Regions from separate parts of the Homo sapiens genome. Here region 2 is linked to region 1. The links are contacts of gene promoters, found by promoter capture Hi-C in blood cells and fetal thymus (Javierre and others, 2016). All regions are on one chromosome and are shown on one strand. The core of a region is centred on a gene start or on the middle of the fragment in contact, and the rest is flanking DNA. Distances in the headings are between cores, read along the strand shown. Region 1 holds the start of BNIP3L (BCL2 interacting protein 3 like). Region 2 overlaps PTK2B (protein tyrosine kinase 2 beta).

Region 1 (3,529 bases), core at 576-3,075:
CCTGGGTAGCAGTAACTAATCTATAACAAAGCAAAGGCTCTTCTGAAGTTTCTCTCTTTCTCTCCTATTATTCAGATGCACATATTTAGGACGTTCTGTGCCATAAACACCACCAGCTCTGCTAGTTCTTTACCGGGTTTATATGGTTGCAATTTGAAAATCTCCACATTGGATGTGTAGTGATTATACTGCTGTAGAAACTCCTAGATGGAGGGTGGTGGGTCTCGCTTCATCAGATTCTGTAACTGCAGTCAGGTTGCTGGGCAGCTTGTTGTTGTTTCTGCTGGACATTCTGGCTGAAGACTGGCTTCGCGGCGAGCAGTTTTAATAAAACTCAGATGGCCAGCAGCCGCCAATCCCTACCAGCTGCGGCTTGAACTCCTGCTTCCGGGTATGACCGGAAACAGCACTCAATCTATTAATAGAGTTCATTTCTGACCAAAATCTTAAAAGAATTTGCAAAGGGATTTGACAAATCAATCCTTAAAAAAAACCTTTTAGCATGGACTTTTTCAAATATATTAAAAAATTAGAGGAATACTTTAATGTATTACATAGCTTCAATAATTACCAACACAAGGTCAATCTTGGACAAGTCCATTTTTAAGTTCATCTGAAGAGTAACTAGCCATTAACATCTGAAAAAGACAAAGGAAGAGAAACTTTAATAGTTATCTAACAGAGGTATTGCAGATAGCCCTGAAACAGACTCACATTTTTGTGGTCATTCAGAGAGTGACAAAGGTGCAATTTCAAATCAGTGTAGAAAGGATGGCTTAAAATTAATATTATTAGGTCAATGGGCTACAAAATTGGGAAGAATTGAAGTTAAATAATTTACAGCATATGGAAAATAAATTTCAGATGGATTAGAGCTCTAAATGTAAAGTTAAGCCTATAAGAAAATTAGAAAAAGTTATAAGGGAATTATAGATTAGTAATCTTGGTGTGACTGTCTCCCCAAGCCATGTAAGAATGATAAATCTGATTACATGAAAACCTTAAGCTTCTACAGAGTGAAAAAAACAAATTAAAAGACAAGTTAGAGACTGCGAGAAACATATGTCACTCATAAATCAGACCAAGGAGACTGGACGAAGACATGGAGATGTGAAGTAGGAGGTGTGCTCAGGAACATAGTTTAATGTCATCCACGTACAGGATAAACGGCTTCCCACGTCATGTCCCAGAAATCGATTAGTCGATGGGATTTGGGTGAGTACTTTCTTCTCTCTGTTTTCCTGAATTTTTCTTTTTTCTTTCTTCCCCTTTCTTCTTTCTCTTTTTTTCAGAATGATGGTGTGTTTGTAATCGACATTTTAAAAATTCTGTAACAATTAAATTTGGGGGCGGCCTTCCCTTGTTTCCCGTATGGAGTGTTGATGTTTCAGCAGCTTTATTTGGAGTTTACACGTGGAGGCACCTGGGTTTGGGGATTCCTTTGTGTCCCCAAGACACCTATTGCAGAAGTGAGTCCTAAGAGGTAGAAAACAGATGCGTGCGCAGGGCTGGGTGAAGCACTGTGGAGCCTGTGTGAGAGGAGGCACGGGCGCGAACACAGGAGCGCACTTCCTCATTCCGTTTCTCCTCATCCTCTCTCCCACTGCCACTGGCATCACTCATCCCATCCGGTCATCCCAAGTCACACGCAAGAGTTCGTTCCCGGCGCGCGCGTCAGCCTGACTCGAGCGTCTCCACGTCCGGGGCCCGCAGGGGAGCGCCCCTGCCCCGTCCGGTCGCTTGTTGTGTTGTCATCACGTGGCCTGGGCGGGCCCTGACGTCAGGGGCAGGGGAGGGACGGCGCAGGCGCAGAAAAGGGGGCGGCGGACTCGGCTTGTTGTGTTGCTGCCTGAGTGCCGGAGACGGTCCTGCTGCTGCCGCAGTCCTGCCAGCTGTCCGACAATGTCGTCCCACCTAGTCGAGCCGCCGCCGCCCCTGCACAACAACAACAACAACTGCGAGGAAAATGAGCAGTCTCTGCCCCCGCCGGCCGGCCTCAACAGTGAGTGCGGGGCCGAGGCTCTGTGAAGGGGATGGGGGAGGAGGAGCAGCCCCGGCCGCCGCCACCGGCGCGGCGCGGGAGGCGGGAGGAGAAGGCAGCTCATTGGCTCAGGCATGGGATGTCCAGGTGACTGACAGCTCCCGTCCCCTGTCAAGAGGAGGGGCGCCTGCCTTGCTCCGGGCCTCTCTGTTGCCTCCTGGGGTCTTGGGCCCGGGGCCGTTTGGGCTCGCGGTCCGGGAGCGGCGCGGGTAGCGCGGATCCCCCTGGTGCGGGGGGTGGTCCCCAGCAGCGGAGCCGGGCGGGGCGGGGCGGGGGCGGGCCTGGGGGGCGGGGAGGCCGGGTGGGCGGAGCGGGCCGCGGAGGGGACGTGGGCCGGGATGGGGACGTGCGGCGGGGACGCCGGGGGATGGACGCGCGGGAGCGGGGCGGGGCGGGCGGCTGCCGCGGGACGTGTCGGGGATCAGGTGTGCGGGGCTCGCGGGCGGGCAGCGTCTGGCGGGCGCGGGAGCCCCCCAGCGAGCATTCCTTTGTTGCCACACGTTTGTCAGGAAAATTCATTTGCTCGTCTAGGGTTGGCTTCAGTCACGTGTGGGGTGAGAGGCTGTGCCTTGCTTCTCCTTTTTCCTTTTTTATTTTTTTATTAGATTTCTCGAAGTTGCCCAAGTGATTTTTTTTTTTTTAAAGCGATGGGTTGTGCGCCCAGTAAAGCTGAGAGCAGCCTCCTGAACCACCCAAGATTGCACACGTCAGGGAGTCTGGGGCCATGCATTTAAAGAAACGGAATTAAAAACGCACTCGGGCAGTTGAAAGTTAACGGACGAGGCTGATAGACAACCCAGGCCAGGGTCTTTTCATAACATTCCGCTGCCCAGACATCTTGTCCTCAGATTGTTCCTAGTCGTGAGAACCGGGAGCCTTCTTGGAAGGGTTCTTGCCTAACCTTTCTTTAATTCAACTCTTGGGAAAGAGGTAATGGGAGCAGTGAGCATATGGCCAGATGAAGTCTTTTCAAAACCACTTGGATGCTTAAAGGTCATGCAGTATCTTTCGTAAGAGGGAGGTGCTTCCAGTGTGGCCTGAAGATTATTTTAGGGAAGAGAGTTTCAGCCCTCACCAGGTAGCGATGGAGTTTGGAGATTTTAAGATGGATGCTGCTGCTCCAGGTTTTGATGGGTTAATTCCCAAAACCTTTAAGTGTCATATATTCCAGAATGTAAGATGGTTATATTATTTCCCACAGTAAATTAGGATGAATGTATGAGTCTTTAAACGTTACTTGTATCACATATTCCTATGCAATTTTAAGTTATTTGCCCATGTTTAGCATACTGTCTTAGATTTTAGAATGGGAAGAAACTTCAGAGCTAGCTAACTGCCTCCTGTTGTTTGCCTGTAGAGAAACAGGTCTAGAGTAAATGGCCTTGTCCAAGTTCACAACCGGCTGGGAGCAAAGCAGAGGTTCTCATGTTCAGCCTGTCTACTGCTCTTTTGAGGACATTTTTTTTTTTTTTTTTTTTTTTTTGAGGT
Region 2 (3,529 bases), core at 295-2,794, 1.0 Mb after region 1:
TCCAGATCACACAACGGGTCCATGGCAGAGACTCAAGGCTGCCATGTTGTCACACTCACGTAATGGCCCAGTTGTATGGCTTACCAGCCCTGAAGAAAGTGGTTTAAATCCAGGTTTGAATGAGTTAAATGTACGCGCCTTCTCCCTGACATCATACGGCCTTTCTGACTAATGGGCCCCTTTCCACTCTCTCTCAAATCAGGAACAGAACCTTTTTTTTTTTTTTCTTGAGGTGAAGTTTCGCTCTTTTCCCCCAGTCTGGAGTGCAATGGTGCAATCTCGGCTCGGTGCAATCTCGGCTCACTGCAAGCTCCGTCTCCCGGGTTCAAGGGATTCTTTTGTCTCAGCCTCCCGAGTAGCTGGGATTACAGGCACGTGCCACCACACCCAACTAATTTTTGTATTTTTAGTAGAGAAGGGGTTTCACCATGTTGATCAGGCTGATCTCAAACTCCTGATTTCAAGTGATCTGCCCACCTCAGCCTCCCAAAATGCTAGGATTACAGTCGTGAGCCACTGCACCCAGCCAGGAACAGAACTTTCAGTCCTCAAGACCATGCATTTTATGTTTGGGACTCTCAGCATCCCCTCTGGTGTCTGCCTCCCCAAGAGGCTAAGCTGTTTACTGAACACAACATGTGTAACATTACCCTACAATGTCTTCAAAGGCAAGAGTTAAGTTTTCCTGTGATATTTATTCCTGTAACCCTAGCATCTCCCCTGTGCCAGGGGCACAGTACTAGGTGCAGTTACAACCTGGTGCATCTGGAGGGGACGTAAATGCTGCTTCAGTTCCCCCTCCTGCAGGCAGGTCAATGTCTTGCCATTCAGGAAGAGCATAATTTATTTTCTTCCTGAAGATCTTAAGAACTCAGAGATTGTCCATCCTCCTGTAGTACCCTTTGCAGATTTTGGCCAAGAAGTTCTTACAGACAATCAGAAGTTTTCCTGTTTTAATTTGAGCCCATTTCTTGTGTTTGTTATTCTTTGACTTTGATTGTGGCAGATTTGGGGGCCAGGAGGCAAACCGAAGCCCAGGATGGCTCAGAGCCAGGGTTTTCACTGGTGCCACAGGATGTAGTCTCCTCTGACTCTGCTCCGACGGTCTGGGGCAGACCAGGAAGCAGGGAGGACAGAATGCCAGGGCTTGGAGAGCCAGGAAGGTCTGGAGAAAGGGGCAGAGTTTTTGGCTCATGAGTTGAGCATCAGAGGATTTTGTGATCATTAAAGGCCAGAGATAGGCTATTGACGAGTAGTTCAAATAATCAGACAATATTTAGAGGCGTGAACAAGTTCTATCATCAAGAAGAAGAGCTGGAGTCAGCAGATTGTTCTCATCTCTTCCCAACTCAGCATTCAGTGGTGATGTGCATTGGTACCTGAAGGTCAGTCATGGTGGGAATTTTTACACTACGGAAATTGGCAAGTTCTACAAAGCGAGCTTTTTTTTTTTTTTTTCTGGAGCACTACTGACAGGAGGAGCAAGATACAGGGAATACAGGTCATCAGACAAGATTTTGGAAAAAAGGCAAGTGAAAATAGTCATGATGATAGAGCCTTTCACTGGTGTCCCACTTTATTGCTTACGAGGAACTCTCACTTATGTTTTCTCACTTCATCTTCACCACCCTTCTATGAGGAAAACAGGGTAGGCAGCATTACCCTACTTTATAGGGGAGGAAAATGAGGCTGGGATAGGTAAAGTTACTTGCACAAGATTTTAGAGCCAGTCAGAAAATGAGCTGGGAGCAGAACACAGGCAGGGTGAGCGCAAGGGAAGATGGCATGGAATTGAGAGCTATGTTCTCTCAAGAACCTGAAGAGGGGTGGCAGATGCCTTCCTTTCATGGAACCGTTCATTTACTTTGCTTCAAAGAGTTCTGAGTGTTCATTACAGATCTGTGTCTACAGCTCAGAGTTTTGGGTGCACTTGAGGAAGTTGCCATGTGTCAATAGAGACATGGGCACCACCTTCCTGGGCCTGAGGCTTTTGATCAAACCTATATTCTAGTGTTGAGTCCGTCTAGGACCTCTCAAGACAAAGTCCTGGCACAAGAAGGGTGATTATCTCTAAGCCAGGAGAGGTTCTGGATTCTTCACTGACTGGGAATATTCGATGCTAATTGTCATCTTTATCTTTCGTGGAGTTTGTGCCGCCCTTAGGGGATTTCACCTTCTTCCAAGGCAGCTGGGGAAGTGGGAGAAACTGTGGGTTTTGATTAAAACCTGGTTTGGGATCTAAGTTTGCTACTTAGCAGGCATGAATCCTTGACCAAATGGCTTAGACCTTTTTGAGTGTGTCACCATCTGTAAAATGGCCATCTTCACTCCTGCCCACCTCCCAGGATTGGGCAGCAGATTGTTGTGCAAAGAACTTGTGTTTCTGTATAGATTTTTAAATTGTAATTACTTTTGGAATGAGCATCCACAGCAGATGTTTCTGCTGCAAAGGGCTAAAGGGAGAACTGAGGAACTTGCATCAGGCTGAAGGTAGAGGTAGATTCTGGGTGACAGAAATGACTGCTGAAATATTTCTCCTTGAGCTATGTTGGTGACTGCAGTTAGTGGCTCTTGAATCAGGGGCCAAGGGAGAGTGAGGAAGATAAGACACCAGAGTCCTCCAAGCACGCTGATGATGTGTCTGGGTGGGCTGCATTGGGTCTGATGTACAGTGTGAATCTTTCTCTTTGGTCAGGACCGATATGGGAGTTGGCTCCTGAGTGGGCTAGACCCTGCCCAGCCAGGCTGCGGAATGGGAGGACAACTATCAGGGTGTGGTTTCTCATTGCTACATTTTTTTCTTAATAGACTATTTTTAGAGAAGTTTTTGTTTCACAGCAAAATTGAGCCGAAAGTGCAGAGTGTTCCCACATGCACCCTGCCCTGACACAAGCACCGCTTCCCCCACTATCAACATCCCTCACCCCCCAGAGTGGCGCATTTGTCACAGTCCATGAACCTGCGTGGACACATCATGATCGCCAAAGATGTCCAGGGGCCTCAGGGCCATAGGCTCACTAGATACAGTATATCCTGAAGCTGGGACCTGCTGTATGTGTGTTGCCTCCATAGCTGCATATACAGTCACCTGTCACTTAAGGGTAAGGCTGCATTCTCAGAAATGCATCATTAGGCAGTTGTGTGAACATCAGAGTACTTAGAGAAACCCAGATGCTACAGTCTACTACACACCTGGACTATTGCTCCTACAGACCTGTACAGCAGATTACTGTACTGAATACTGCAGGTAATTATAACACAATTGAGGGTATAAATACCCTAGATCCCTCACTCTCTGGGTTGGGTACATTCTGTCCTGGTTCCTAGAGTTTCCAGCAGGATTAAATGGCAGTTGCCCAAGTGATCACTTACTTGATCACTCTTTTTGACTGTTTTCCCTTCCCTATCATCATTTCTCTGGTTTACTTACACAAACCTAGATGGTACAGCCTAGACTATATGGTATAGCACATGGCTCCTACAACCCTATACAGCAAGTTACTGTACTGAATGCTGTAGGCAATTGTAA

The links. The method cuts DNA at HindIII sites, captures the fragments that hold promoters and counts their contacts. A CHiCAGO score of 5 or more calls a contact.
Region 2: a contact is called between a fragment that was not itself captured here and the fragment with the promoter of BNIP3L in region 1, in 1 of 17 cell types (neutrophils). The highest score is 6.9, in neutrophils.

Annotation. Positions count from the first base shown.
Region 1 is chr8:26,381,229-26,384,757 of GRCh38, forward strand. It overlaps BNIP3L (BCL2 interacting protein 3 like), which reads left to right and starts at 1,826. Exons shown (of 6, transcript NM_004331.3): 1 at 1,826-2,002. The coding sequence starts at 1,903. It also overlaps the pseudogene SDAD1P1. RefSeq lists enhancers at 303-1,502, 1,476-1,775 and a silencer at 1,986-2,575. The HindIII fragment of the contact is 3,600 bases long and covers 1,005-3,529 here.
Region 2 is chr8:27,390,869-27,394,397 of GRCh38, forward strand. The region is part of intron 1 of PTK2B (protein tyrosine kinase 2 beta); the gene reads left to right. Among named protein-coding and RNA genes, the nearest start is that of MIR6842, 41 kb to the right of the region's middle. RefSeq lists enhancers at 1,861-1,990, 2,303-2,442. The HindIII fragment of the contact is 4,590 bases long and covers 1-3,529 here.